4 separate regions of the Homo sapiens genome follow, and regions 2, 3 and 4 are each linked to region 1. The links are contacts of gene promoters, found by promoter capture Hi-C in blood cells and fetal thymus (Javierre and others, 2016). All regions are on one chromosome and are shown on one strand. Each heading gives the region's core, a stretch centred on a gene start or on the middle of the fragment in contact. The rest is flanking DNA. Distances are from core to core; before and after follow the strand shown.

Evidence for each region. Contacts are between HindIII fragments. The CHiCAGO score rates a contact against its expected background, and 5 or more counts as called.
Region 2: a fragment that was not itself captured here is called in contact with the fragment with the promoter of SUGP1 in region 1 in 1 of 17 cell types (M1 macrophages); the score reaches 5.6 in M1 macrophages.
Region 3: a fragment that was not itself captured here is called in contact with the fragment with the promoter of SUGP1 in region 1 in 1 of 17 cell types (M2 macrophages); the score reaches 5.8 in M2 macrophages.
Region 4: the fragment with the promoter of PBX4 here is called in contact with the fragment with the promoter of SUGP1 in region 1 in 2 of 17 cell types (neutrophils and M1 macrophages); the score reaches 8.4 in neutrophils.

The regions. Positions count from the first base shown.
Region 1 is chr19:19,318,376-19,321,758 of GRCh38, forward strand. It overlaps SUGP1 (SURP and G-patch domain containing 1), which reads right to left and starts at 2,134. Exons shown (of 14, transcript NM_172231.4): 1 at 2,088-2,134. The coding sequence starts at 2,121. It overlaps MAU2 (MAU2 sister chromatid cohesion factor), which reads left to right and starts at 2,454. Exons shown (of 19, transcript NM_015329.4): 1 at 2,454-2,760. The coding sequence starts at 2,485. RefSeq lists enhancers at 2,002-2,051, 2,072-2,561, 2,270-3,241 and a silencer at 2,613-2,834. The HindIII fragment of the contact is 18,112 bases long and covers 1-3,383 here.
Region 2 is chr19:19,047,064-19,050,474 of GRCh38, forward strand. All of the region lies in intron 4 of ARMC6 (armadillo repeat containing 6), which reads left to right. Among named protein-coding and RNA genes, the nearest start is that of ARMC6, 15 kb to the left of the region's middle. The HindIII fragment of the contact is 8,485 bases long and covers 1-3,411 here.
Region 3 is chr19:19,028,033-19,031,655 of GRCh38, forward strand. It overlaps SUGP2 (SURP and G-patch domain containing 2), which reads right to left. Exons shown (of 11, transcript NM_001017392.5): 2 at 2,919-3,050. The coding sequence starts at 3,039. Among named protein-coding and RNA genes, the nearest start is that of SUGP2, 3.7 kb to the right of the region's middle. The HindIII fragment of the contact is 6,110 bases long and covers 1-3,623 here.
Region 4 is chr19:19,616,675-19,620,187 of GRCh38, forward strand. PBX4 (PBX homeobox 4) reads right to left here and starts at 2,013. Exons shown (of 8, transcript NM_025245.3): 1 at 1,837-2,013. The coding sequence starts at 1,955. RefSeq lists a silencer at 1,795-2,004. The HindIII fragment of the contact is 7,939 bases long and covers 1-3,513 here.

The sequences.
Region 1 (3,383 bases), core at 884-3,383:
TCCCAAAGTGCTGGGATTACAGGCGTGAGCCACCACACCCAGCCGTTTTTTTTGTTTTGTTTTGTTTTTTTGAGACAGGGTCTCGCTGAGTTGCCCAGGCAGGAGTGCAGTTGCATGATCGTAGCTCACTGCATCCTCAAACTCCTGGGCTCTAGAGATTCTCCCACCTCAGCCACCCGAGTGGCTAGGACTACAGGCACACTCTACCAGGCCTAGCTATTTTCTTTTATTTTTTGTAGAGACAGGTTCTTGCTATGTTCCCCAGGCTAATCTTGAACTCCTGTCCTCAAGGGAGCCTCCCATTTAAGCCTCCCAAAATGCTGAGATTTTAGGCATGGATCACCACACCTAGCCAATATCCACAGGGTCGTTTTATTTTCATCCTGGCTACTAGGTAATCATTCTGGCCAGAGAATCCACAGGCAACAAGACCAGGGAGGCTCACTGGCTCCAAGCAACAGACAATGATGTCTTCAGACTAGGGTGATAGTATGGAGACAGGGAAGACACCTCAGAGGTTCCCCATGGGACTCAGAATAAAATCCAAATTTTAAAAGTCTGAGCCGGGCATGGTGACTCACACCTGTAATCCCAGCACCTGGGAGGCTGAAGCAGGCAGATCACTTGAGGTCAGGAGATCGAGACCAGCCTGGCCAACATGGTGATACCCCGTCTCTACTAAAAATACACAAAAACACTGGCCAGGTGCGGTGGCCGGCGCCTGTAATCCCAGCTACTCAGGAGGCTGAGGCAGAAGAATGGCTTGAACCCGGGAGGTAGAGGTTGCAGTCAGCCGACATCGTGCCACTGCACTCCAGCCTGGGCGACAGAGCGAAACTCCGCTTCAACAAAAAGAAAAAAAGAATTCTAAAAGGCCATTTTCAAGGCCCCGCCAGATGGTTCCCCTCCCTTCTGCTTCATCCTTGACATTCTTCAAAAGGACAAGCCCATCCTACCAGGGCCTCTGCATTTACTGGCCCCCCTCTGTGTGGAAGGCTCCACCCTCCAGGGATTCCCATAGCTGGCATTCATTGTCTTAACTCAAATGTCCTCTGCTTGAAAAGGCCTTTCCCTGGGCCAGGTGTGGTGGCTCACACCTTTACGTAACCCCAGCACTTTAAGAGGCTGAGATGGGAGGATCGCTTGAGCCTAGGAATTCCAGACCTGCATGGGAAACGTGGCAACACAAAAAACACACAAATTCGCTGTGTGGTGGCGCGCATCTGTGGTCTCAGCTACTAGGGAGGCTGAGGTGGGAGGATCACCTGAACCCAGGGAGCCACAGTGAGCCACTGCACTACAGCCTGGGCGACAAAGTGAGACCCTGTCTCAAAAAAAAAAAAAAAAAAAAAAAGAAAGAAAGAAAGAAAAGGTCTTTCCTGACTACCCAATATCAGAAGCCTCCACTCTGATCATATCATACGTAACCTCACATCATACGTAAGTTTTTGTAAATATTTTCTCATTAATGCACTGACACCCCAGTAGAAAGCAACCTCCAGGAAGGCAGGGCCCTGTTTCGGTCACCGCTGCATGCGTAGCGCCCAGCACACTGCTTGGCACACAGTGAGCACGCCCTAAGTATCTGCTGATGGGTAAATGCATTCTATTCTGGGGAAGCAGAAAGGCCAAGGCTTGCAGCAAAGTGAGGGTCAAAAGACGCGGGAAAGTGTGTCAAGGGAGCCTCAAAGCACTTCGGAAAAGCAGCTTTTCCAGAAAGCGGGACACAGGCCAGAGGCCAGCTGCGACGAAAAGAGGGGTGCAGGGACAGCCCAAGGTTGTCGCCGTATTGGGGAACGGAGGTTGGAGCAGCCCTGAAGGCGGTTGTTTCGGAAACGGGACGCAGGGCCGAGCCGGGTGGCGGCCTCTACGGAGATCCGTGCGTCCTCAGCAAACCAAGCGGGGGCGGCCAGCAACCTGGGTCTGGGGTCTCGAGAAACCAAGAGGTGCAGAAGCCGACGCTGTGGGCTGCCCCGGGGCTGAAGCGAGGGATCCACGGGTCGCAGCAGGACGGACCCGAGGAGTCAGGGGAGACACCTAGCCCCAGGGACCCAGGCGGCCGCCTGAGAGGAGGCGGGGGCTGTTACCTGCAACATCCCGGTTGTCCATCTTGAGACTCATCCAATCCCACAATGCTCCGGCGCCCCTTAAGGGGCCCTGTTATAGTGTGCATCGCCTGATGGGAGATGTAGTCCGCCTCGGTCAGACTCGCCCTATTACTGCGTGAACGACTGGGTTTTTTTTTTTTTAACCTCCAGAAACGGAAGCCTCAGCCTATCAGCGATGCCTAAGTCCCAGTCACGATAACCAAACGGCGTCGCCCTTTTACACCTTCCCGGAGCGGCAGTCATCCCAAATACAAACTACATGTTCCAGGATGCTTTGGGCGGCAGATCTCGCGGAAGCCGCGAGGAGAGCCCGGCCCCGTCTCGCGCGCCTGCTTCCGCCTCCCTGTGGCGGCGGCTTGTTGTTGTGGAGGCCAAAATGGCGGCTCAGGCGGCGGCAGCGGCCCAGGCGGCGGCGGCCCAGGCTGCGCAGGCCGAGGCGGCCGACTCGTGGTACCTGGCGCTTCTGGGCTTCGCTGAGCACTTCCGCACTTCCAGCCCGCCCAAAATCCGCCTGTGCGTGCACTGCCTGCAGGCCGTGTTCCCCTTCAAGCCGCCGCAGCGCATCGAGGCCCGTACACACCTGCAGCTGGGCTCCGTTCTCTATCACCACACCAAGAACAGCGAGCAGGCGCGCAGCCACCTGGAGAAGGCGGTGAGCGCGGGCCGGGCCGCGAGGGAGGAGTCGCGGGCTCCTTGCAAGATCTGGGCTGACGGGTCGCGACCGCGGCGGGTGGGGGGCCGCTCCTCGGCGACCTGGGGGCGCGACCTCCGTCAAAGCCGCAGGACCCCCACCCGCCTCTGCCGGACCCCAAAGCCACCAGCCTCTCAAGGGACACGAAAGCCTCGCCCCCCACGCCTTATTTCCCGTTTCTGGTGACAGGGCTCCAGGAGCCCCGTCACCGTACTCTGAAAGTTGCCTGTTATTGGGAGCAACAGGATCCGCAAATCGTCTGGTTTTCAGGAGGATCCCACCTGTTGGTGGCGATGGGGACATCACAGGGTCCTGAAGCTATTAGCTCCTCCTGGTTCAGCTTCCGGAGCATCAGCCCCAAACGCTTCCACCTAAAGTGACTTGGGGTAGGGGTTGGCGAAGGCGAGACCCCTGGCATTCTCCCGGGAATCTGAAGTCTGGTCTCTCAGGAACCTGGAAGGGCATGATTCTCCTTGGACACAGAAGTTTGGTAATCGTGGTTTTTGGAGGGTCTTGTGCCCCCATCAATAATGCCTGGTGTCGTACGAGGGAAGCTGAGACCCGGAGTCTGGAGTTGGTCATTT
Region 2 (3,411 bases), core at 127-2,626, 270 kb before region 1:
CTGTCTCAGCCTCCTGAGTAGCTGGGATTACAGGTACCTGCCACCATGCCTGGCTAATTTTAAATTTTATTTTTCATTAAGGAAGAGTGGAAATACATTCTTAGCATAAAGGATTCAAGCAATACTCAAGCATTTATAGTAAAATCTGAAAGTCCCTGCCTTGTCCCTCCCACCAGACACTGGGGTTTGCATCTCAGCGGTCAGTTCGCAACTGAACCAACCCCCTTCTCAAATGCCCTGCAGCATAATTGACCTTTGTGCATCTTGGCTTAGATGTGTAAAAAATGCTTATCTGTTGAGGGAGAAAAAAATTCAACATTGTGATGGTCGTTGAAATTAATCTGTTTGTGTCATAAGATTTGTTGCAAACAGGCTTGTAGAAACAGAAGGAAAATAATGTCTGGAGACTGTCCAGGGAAAAACTGAGCCAGCCAGGCCACATTTATATGTGGGAAGTTGTAGAATGAAAGGCATTAGTCACAGAGACTGAATGACTCCAGGAGTCAATGGGTAAAGCCCCCCTCCATGAGCAAGGTGGTGAGCGCCACAGAAAATTGTCATAGGTAGAACACAGCTGGCTCTGCCACCTGCATTTTAGCAACCATCTGTCAATGAAAATACTCTATAAAATATTTCAAGAGATTTATTCGGAACCAAATATGAGTGACCAAAGGCCCATGACACAGCCTCGGGAGCTCCTGAGAACATGTGTCCAAGGTGGTCGGGCTACAGCTTGGTTTTATACGTTTTAGGGAGACATGAGATATCAATCAATACATGTGAGACGTACATTGGTGTGGTCTGGAAAAGTAGGGCAGCTGAAAGCCGGGGCTTCCAGGTCATAGACACATTTAAAGATTTTTCTGGCCAGGTGCTGTGGCTCACGTCTGTAATTTCAGCATTTTGGGAGGCTGAGGTGGTCGGATTGCATCGAGCTGAGGAGTTTGGGACCAGCCTGGCCAACATGGCAAAACCCATCTCTACAAAAAATACAAAAATTAGGCCACGTGTGGTGGCTCACACCTGTAATCCCAGCACTTTGGGAGCCCAGGCAGGTGGATCACCTGAGGTCAGGTGTTCGAGACCAGCCTGGCCAACATGATGAAACCCCGTCTCTACTAAAAATACAAAAATTAACCGGGCATGGTGGCAGGTGCCTGTAACTCCAGCTACTCAGGAGGCTGAGGTAGGAGAATTGCTTGAACCCGGGAGGCAGAGGTTGCAGTGAGCCAAGATTGCACCATTGCACTCCAGCCTTGGTAACAAGAGCGAAATTGCATCTCAAAAAAACAAAAAACAAAAAACAAAAATTAGCTGGGCATGGTAGTGGGTGCTTATAATCCCAGCTACTTGGGAGGCTAAGGCGGGAGAATCACTTGAATCCAGGAGGCGGAGGTTGCAGTAAGCCGAGATCATGCCACTGTACTCCAGCCTGGGCAACAGAATGAGACTCAGAAAAAAAAAAAAAAGATTTTCTGATTGAAAGAGTTATCTAAAGACCTAGAATCAATAGAAAGGAATATTTTGCTTAAGACGGGTTGTGGAGATCAAGGGTTTATCAAGGAAGCCTCCAGGTAGCAGGCTTCAGAGAAAATAGATTGTAAATATTTCTTATCAGACTTAAAAAGGTGCCAGACTCTTAGTTAATTCTCTCCTGAATCAGGGAAAAGACCTGGAAAGGGAATCTCTGTAGAATGTAGCTTTTCCCCACAAGAGATAGCTTTGCAGGGCCATTTCAAAATATGTCAGAGAAATATATTTTAGGGTAAAATACTTTGATTTCTTTCCATACTGTATTAGTTAGGCTGGAACTTGGTGTCTTATTGCTACAAAAAAGTCTTACGATGATCAGTTATGTCTGACTTCCAAAGGCAGGAAGATAAAATGAGACATATTTGACCGCCACTTCCCATCATGACCTGAAGTAGTTTTTCAGGTTACCTTTGGAATACCTTTGGCCAAGAGGAGGGGTCCTTAGTATGGATGAGGACTTAGATTTTTTTTTTTTTTTTTTTTTGAGACAGGGTCTCCCCAGCTAGAGTGCAGTGGTGTGATCTTAGCTCACTGAAACCTCTGCTTCCCGGGCTCAAGCAATTCTTCAGCCTCAGCCTCCCATGTAGCTGACTACATGGTGTGAGCCACCAACATCTGGCTAATTTTTGTATTTTTTTTAGAGACAGGGTTTTACCACGTTGCCCAGGCTGGTCTTGAACTCCTGAGCTCAAAGCGATACACCTGCCTTGGCCTCCCAAAGTGAAGAGATTACAGGCATGAGCCACCATGCCCGGCCAAGAATTTTATTTTTAGTTTACACATCCTTGCTAACTTAGTAATTCCTTGTGAAATCTTGGTAGTTCTAACTCCAATACTGTGCATCCTCAAAGGCATTTCTGTCAGGAGCTTTTCAAGTTTCTTACAGGGTTTCTGCTGAAGTGCTACACCGCTGTTTGTTATGTAAAATGTGCATAAAAACATTTACCATTGTAACCATTTTTAAATGTAGAGTTCAGTGTCATTAAGTACATTCATAATGTTGTGCAACCATCATGACTATCCATGACTTGCGATACTGAAACAAACTCCATGTTCCTCTTCCCCTCAGCCTCTAGCAACCATCATTCTACCTTCTGTTGCTGCAAATTTGACTACTCCAGGACCTCATATAAATGGAATCACAGGCTGGCCACCCTGGCTTATGCCTGTAATCCCAGCATTTTGGGAGGCTGAGGTGGGCAGATCACTTTGAGGTCAGGAGTTAGAGACCAGCCTGGCCAACATGGTGAAACCCTGTCTCCACTAAAAATACAAAAATTATCCGGGCGTGGTGGCACATGCCTGTAGTCCCAGCTGCTCAGGAGGCTGAAGCGGGAGGATTGTTTGAACCCAGGAGGTGGAGGTTGCAGTGAGCTGAGATGGTACCACTCCACTCCAGCCTGGGTGACAGAGGAAGACTCCATCTAAAAAAAAAAATTTTTTTTAAATAAATGGAATCACAGTATTTGTCTTTTGGTGACTGTCTTATTTCACTTAGCGTAATGTCCTCAAGGTATATCCATAGCATACTATGTGCCTGAATTTCTTTGTTGTCATTGTAGTGTTTTTTTGTTTGTTTGTTTTTCTTTTTGGAGACAGAGTCTCTCTCTGTCGCCCAGGCTGGAGTGCAATGGCACGAGCTCAGCTCCCTGCAACCTCCAACCTCTTGGCTCTGATGAATCATGCTGCTATGAACATGGGTGTACAGGTATCTCTTTGAGACTGTGCTTTCAGTTCTCTTGAGTGTATCCCCAGAAGTGGAACTGATGGGTCACACAGTAATTCTGTTTGATTTTCTTTTTTGAGATGAATGCTCCGTATGTTGCCCAGGCGAGTCTTGAACTCCTGGGATCAAGTGATCCTCCTGCCTTGGCCTCC
Region 3 (3,623 bases), core at 685-3,184, 290 kb before region 1:
GACAAGACCCTGAGGTGGGACCAGTAGGGGGCCAATGTAGACAGAAGGGAACACAGGGAATGAAAGGCCAAGTGGTAGGAAGGCAGCTCCCAAACTCTGCTACTGGAGCCCCAGGGACCACCTCCCCAGACATTCTTACTTAATTAAATAAGGGGATGACCTGGGCATCAGGGTTTTTAAAAGGCCCCCAGGTGACGCTAACGTGCTACAAAGTTAGGGAACCACTAATATAAGAGACACAAATGGAGAAGGAGTACCAGATCCAAGTCGGGCCCTCAGTGGTACTCTGGAATTTACTCTGGGAGAGACAGAAGGCTAGTGAAGAGTTCTAAGCAGAGGGATGATCTCACTGGCTGCTGCACAGGGAACAGATTAAAGGAGATGAGCACAGACGTGGATGTTCCTGCAAGAAATCCACTGTGATAACCCAGGTATTGATGATTGGTATTGATGGCATGATTAGGGAGGGAACATTAGTGACAGAGAGTGATGGCTGGATTCTACTCAAGAGAATTTTCTCATACCCTTTATGAGGAGATGAAAAGTTCAGAGTGGAGCAGAGAAACAGAGAAAGGCTAAACGATAGACTGCTTTGCAACACAGAAATGTTCCAGAATCACCTAGCATACTGCTAGGTTTCTAGTCCTCTCCCACCCACGGCCCCCTAATCTGTCTTTTTTTTTTGAGACGGAGTCTCGTTCTGTCACCCACGCTGGAGCGCAGTGGTGCGATCTCGGCTCACTGCAACCTCCACCTCCTGGGTTCAAGCTATTCTTCTGTCTCAGCCTCCTGGGTAGCTGGGATTATAGGGGCCTGCCACATTTTTGTATTTTTAGTAGACACGGGGTTTCACCATGTTGGCCAGACTGGTCTCAAACTCCTGACCTCAGGTGATCTGCCCACCTTGGCCTCCCAAAGTGCTGAGATTACATGTGTAAGCCACTGCACCTGGCCGTCTTTTTTTGAGACAGGGTCTCACTCTTTGGCCCAGGCTGGAGTATAATGGCACAAACACAGCTTACTGCAGCCTCGACTTCCTGGGCACAAGCGAACTTCCTGCCTCAGCCTCCCAAGTAGCCAGGGCCATAGGCGCATGCCACCATGCCCAGATAAATTTTTTTTTTTTTGAGACGGAGTCTTGCTCTGTCACCCAGGCTGGAGTGCAGTGGCACAACCTTGGCTCGCTGCAACCTCCGCCTCCTGGGTTCACGCCATTCTCCTGCCTCAGCCTCCTGAGTAGCTGGGACTACAGGCGCCCGCCACCACGCCCGGCTAATATTTTTAGTAGAGACAGGGTTTCACCGTGTTAGCCAGGATGGTCTCGATCTCCTGACCTTGTGATCCGCCCGCCTCGGCCTCCCAAAGTGCTAGGATTACAGGCTTGAGCCACTGCGCCCGGCCATTTTTTTTCTTTTTTTTTTTTTGAGATGGAGTCTCGCTCTGTCGCCCAGGCTGGAGTGCAGTAGCGCAATCTTGGCTCACTGCAGGCTCCACCTCCCGGGTTCACGGCATTATCCCGCCTCAGCCTCCCAAGTAGCTGGGACCACAGGCACCCACAACCACACCTGGCTAATTTTTTTTTTTTTTTGATTTTTAGTAAAGACGGGGTTTCACCATTCACAGGATGGTCTCGATCTCCTGACCTTGTGATCCTCCCAGCACTCTGGGAGGCCGAGGCGGGCAGATCACAAGGTCAGGAGTTCAAAACCAGCCTGACCAACATAGTGAAACCCCATCTTTACTAAAATAAATACAAAAAAATTAGCCGGGCATGGTGGCAGGCACCTGTAATCTCAGCTACTCGGGAGGCTGAGGCAGGAGAATCGCTTGAATCCAGGAGGCACAGGCCGCAGTGAGCCAAAATCACGTCACTGCACTCCAGCCTGGGCGACAGTACAAGACTCTGTCTCAAATAAAAAAAAAAAAGAACTAGTAGAGCTTAAACCTGGGCAGCGGTGACAGGGATGGAGCCAGGAAATGGATCCAAGAACCTGTCTTGGGGCTGGGAGCAGTGGCTCACGCCTGTAATCGCAACATGCTGAAGGCAGAGGTGGGAGGATCACTTGAGCCCAGGAGTTGCAGACCAGCCTGAAAACATAGCAAGACTCCATATCTATTAAAAAAAACAAAAAACAAAAAAAACAAAAACATAAAAAACACCAAAAAACAAAACTGGGCTGGGCTCGGTGGCTCATGCCTGTAATCCCAGCATCTTGGGAGGCCAAGGCAAGTGGATCACCTGAGGTCGGGAGTTCGAGACCAGCCTGGCCAACATGGTAAAACCTCATCTCTACTACAAATAGAAAAATTAGCTGGGCGTGGTGGTGCATGCCCGTAATCCCAGCTACTCAGGAGGCTGAGGCAGGAGAATCGCTTGAACCCAGGAGGCGGAGGTTGCAGTGAGCCAAGAGGCGGAGGTTGCAGTGAGCCAAGATCCCTCCATTGCCCTCCAGCCTGGGAGACAAGAGTGAAACTCCGTCTCAAAACAAACAAACAAACAAACAAACAATAAACAAAACTGTCTTGAGGTGGGTCGGGGAGGATATCCAGTGAGAAGCTCCAGATAACTACATAATGATGACTGACAGATCAAAACATTATCCCCTGACCAAGTGCAGTGGCTCATGCCTATAATCCCAGCACTCTGGGAGGCAGAGATGGAAGGATGGCTTGAGCCTAGGAGTTCAAGGGTGCAGTGAGCTAAAACTGCGCCACTGCACTTCAGCCTGGGGGAGAGAGTAAGACCCTATCACAAAAAAGAAACCAAACCAAAATAAAAACCTTTACCTCCTCCTAAATAAGGAAACTAAGGATCAGAGGACTGGTATTATTTGCCCAAGGTATTGTAATCTTCCTGCCTTGGCCCTAAGATACACCCCTACCAAAACAACAACTACAACAACAACACTTTATTTTACCTTGAGCTTTAAACTGAAGAGTTTCGCTTACAGCCTCACCACTGGCATCCATGTGATATCGTTTGGCTTTTTCTTGTAATACAGCATCAAAAGTCTCCTGTGTAATTCGTCTGGCTGCCATGTTATTTTGCCCTATGGTGAGAGAGAAAAAAATACACTAAGAGCAACAACTTGGAGCTGGGCGCGGTGGCTCATACCTGTAATCCTGGCACTTTGGGAGGTCGAGGTGGGCGGATCACCTGAGCTCAGGAGTTCGAGACCAGCCTAGGCAACATGATGAAACTAAAATACAAAAAATTCAGGCTGGGTGTGGTGGCTCACACCTGTAATCCCAGGACTTTGGGAGGCTGAGGTGAGCGGATCATTTAAAGTCAGGAGTTGGAGACCAGCCTGGCCAACATGGCAAAACCCTGTCTCTACTAAAAATACAAAAATTAGCCGGGCATGGTGGTGCCTGCCTTTAATCCCAGCTACTTGGGAGGCTGTGGCAAGAGAATTGCTTGAACCCAGGAGGCGGAGGTTGCAGTGGGCCGAGATCATGCCACTGCACTCCAGCATGGGTAACAGAGTGAGACTCCGTCTCAAAAAAAAAAAAAAAAAAATTTCACCAGGCATGGTGGCACGTGCCTGTAATCCCAAATACTCAGGAGGCTGAGGCATGGGAATTGCTTGAACCAGGGAGACAGAGGTTGCAGTGAGCCGAGA
Region 4 (3,513 bases), core at 763-3,262, 300 kb after region 1:
CCTTTATTATTATTATTATTTTTTGTTCAGACGGAATCTCGCTCTGTCGCCCAGGCTGGAGTGCAGTGGTGTGATCTCGGCTCACTGCAGCCTCCGCCTCCCAGGTTCCAGTGATTCTCCTGCCTCAGCCTCCCAAGTAGTTGGGATTATAGGTGTGCACCACTACACCCAGCTAATTTTTGTATTTTTGGTAGAGACTGGGTTTCACCATGTTGGCCAGGCTGGTATTGAACTCCTGACCTCGTGATTCACCTGCCTTGGCCTCCCAAAGTGCTGGGATTACAGGCGTGAGCCACCGCACCTGGCCCCAGCCTTCCTTTAAACTCAACTCTTTCCCTCCCTGGCTAGGAACTTTCTCTTCCCAGCCAGACTCCGCTTTTTACATCCTCTTTCCCACCTCAGGGCCTCTGAAGGTGCTGTCCTCTCCAAAGATGTTCTTCTCCACCTGGCTTCCTATAGCATGCAACCCCTATCCCTACAGCTTTTATTGCCATTTATTTTATTTTTTTCTTTTCTCAGATTGGTACAGGATGGTCTCACTATGTTGCCCAGGCTGGTCTCAAACTGCTGGACTCAAGTGATCCTCCCACTGGGAGGCAGCTGGGATTACCTACCCATGCTACCATGCCTGGCTTATACTTTTTTGCTTTTGTTTGAGACAGGGTCTAGCTCTGTCACCCAGGCTGGAGTGCAATGGCTTGATTCGGCTCACTGCAGCCTCAGCCTCCTAAGTAGCTGGGACTACAGGCTTGCATCATCACACCTAACTAATTTTTTAATTTTATTTTTAGTAGAGACGAGGTCTTACTACATTGTCCAGGTTGGTCTCGAACTCCTGAGCTCAAGCAATCCTCCTGCCTCAGCCTCCTAAAGTGCTGTGATTAGAGATGTGAGCCACTCCACCCAGTCCTTATTTTTTGCTATTTACATTCCCTCCCCTAAATCATGTACTCGAGAGCAGGGACTATGTCAGCACCCGGTTCCCTATCCAGTTATTGTAAGGATTCAATAAAAATTTGCTGAATTCATTAAAAAGAAAATAGGTCTTCCATCTCCACCCACTCCTCTACTAACCCTTTTCCCAAAAGTTCTCGATGGTTCCCACACCAAGTTACCCCAGTTCAGTTCTTCAGTCTCCTGCAGACATTCCTGAGTCCCATTCCCAGCCACTCACTCTCCATCATCTGCCCTGGAAACTTCCCACCCACAGGCCGGGCTCGGTGGCTCGCGCCTGTAATCCCAGCACTTAGGGAGGCCGAGACGGAATGAGTGCTTGAACCCAGGAGTTTAAGCAACTATAGCGAGACCCCTGTCTCTACAAAATATACAAAAAAATCAGCCGGGCGTGGTTGCACGTGCGCCTGTGGTCCCAGCTACTCGGGAGGCTGAGGCAGGAGAATCAACTGAGCCGGGGAGGTGGATGCTGCAGTGAGCCATGATCACGCCACTGCACTCCAGCCTGGGCGACAGAGCAAGACCGTGTCAAACAACAACAAAAAAACTTCCAGCCGCAGGAGTCCCATTAACGTACCCATTTAGTCATTCACTCGTCAAAAGTCCCGTACGTGCCCATTTCTCAGCCCTACTCCCTAAACCCCTAAACCCAACCTTCTCGCCCCAAGATGAGCTGCTGAAAATCCTTCACGCCACTGCTCGGCCCCATAAGGCCTATCCAGCCCGTTCCGTTTGAACCCCATACATCCCTTCGTCCTCGGGACCCCCCTCCAGCCCTCCTCAAGCGCCCCTCGTCAGTCTGGCCTCCACGCCCCGTCCCCTCAGCCCGCCAACCTCACTGCCACGACCCTGCGTGGCCCCTGCCGAGCCCGCGGGCAGCACCTGGCCTGTGCCTCGTCCAGGCTCTGGTCGGTGATGGCCATGATCTGCTGCAGGACGTCGCTCGTGTCGAGGCGCCGCGGGGCGGGGGGCGATGGCGCGGGGCGCGGCGGGGCGGCCATGAGCGGCAGGGCCGGGCGGGCGCTGTGAGGGTGCCGTCGAGCCTGGAGCACTACCACTGGCGCCGCAGCCAACCGCCGCTGCCTGAGCGCCGCGCCCGCTCTCGCTCGCGCCTAAGCCACGCCCACCGCCGCTATCGCCAGCCAACCCGTGTATTGCACCGCCTACAGACACGCCCCTTCATCTCCGTCAGCCAACCGGCGCCACGCACCGCCCCCGGGACTCGCCCCGAACTTCCCCCTCTCCGGGCTTGGACTGGGTTTGGGGTTGCCGAGGCAACGGCACTTCTCATAAGCGCCCTCCTTCCCCTTGAGAGAGGGCAGCGCTGGCTCCGCTCCAGCCAGAGGCCCCCATCCCTCACATCTCGCGCGGTGCACGCCTCCTTCAGCCCCACTCGCATCTCCTCAGAGTTCCTGCTCCTCCTCAGGGCCCCCTTCTCCTCAAAGCCCTCGGTCCTCAGAGACCCTCACTCCCCAGAGCACCCCAACTCTTCCTCCAAGCCACCCCCTCCTCCTCAGAACCCCACACCTCTTATAGCTTGATCGACAGCCCCCATTCATTTCCAGAAGCCCCAAGCCCCAGACCCCTGCTCAGTCCCCCTAATGCTCCCTGCATCCTCAGCCCCATCAGGTGGGCCACTGGGGCCCCTGGCTCTTCCTCTAGAGCTTTCCACGCCCCGTTCACCTGGCTAAGGCGGGGCGCAGGCGTGCGTGGTTGATGGCAACGAGGAGGTCAGAACGCAGCGCTTTTCTCCACTGCAGAAATCAATTCCAGTCACCTTTCAAGGTCCAGCTGAAGAGTGACCTCGCTTGTTTATTCATCTTCGCAGATTACAGTTCTGGGCATAGAAAATGCTACCACGTGGTTACCGAATGAAGGAAGGATGTTTACTGAGAGACTCCCCTGCAGTGTACCCCAAATCAGAGCGAATCCTCACATCTTTGTTTCTAGTCCTTAGGACACAGCATCGAAGGCTCCTAGTGCACAAGAAAAGGAACTGGGCGGTGGCTCATGCCTGTAATCCTAGCACTTTGGGCGGCAGAGGCGGGAGGATCACTTGAGCACGGGAGTTTGAGACCAGCTTGGGCAACATAGTGAGACCCCGTGGTGGTGCACGCCTGTGGTCCCAGCTATTTGGGACTTGAGAGGCTGAAGTGGGAGGATCACTTGGGCCTGGGAATTTGAGGCTGCAGTGAGCCATGATTGCACCACTGCACTGCAGCCTGGTTGACGGAGACCAGGTCTCAAAAAAAAAAAAAAAAAAAAAAAGTAATGGCCTGGACATGAATCTCTTCTCCAAAGTCACAGAACCTCCTGGAGCCTATTTGCTATGAGGACAGTCTCCAGATGTGGGCTCAGTAAAAGGTCCTCAGCCTGCTGGCTGGGAGCCCTTCCAGGGTGGGGCCCACGTTCTCTCCATTGCTGCTGGGGAGGAAATTCAAACACCATCTGGTATGGCTGGATTGGAGAGCGTCGGGAGACTCCAAAGGGGACGGCAGGGAGTGAAAAATGAAAGACATTGACCGAGTGTCTGGACAATAGGGAAAGCTCTCTGATGAA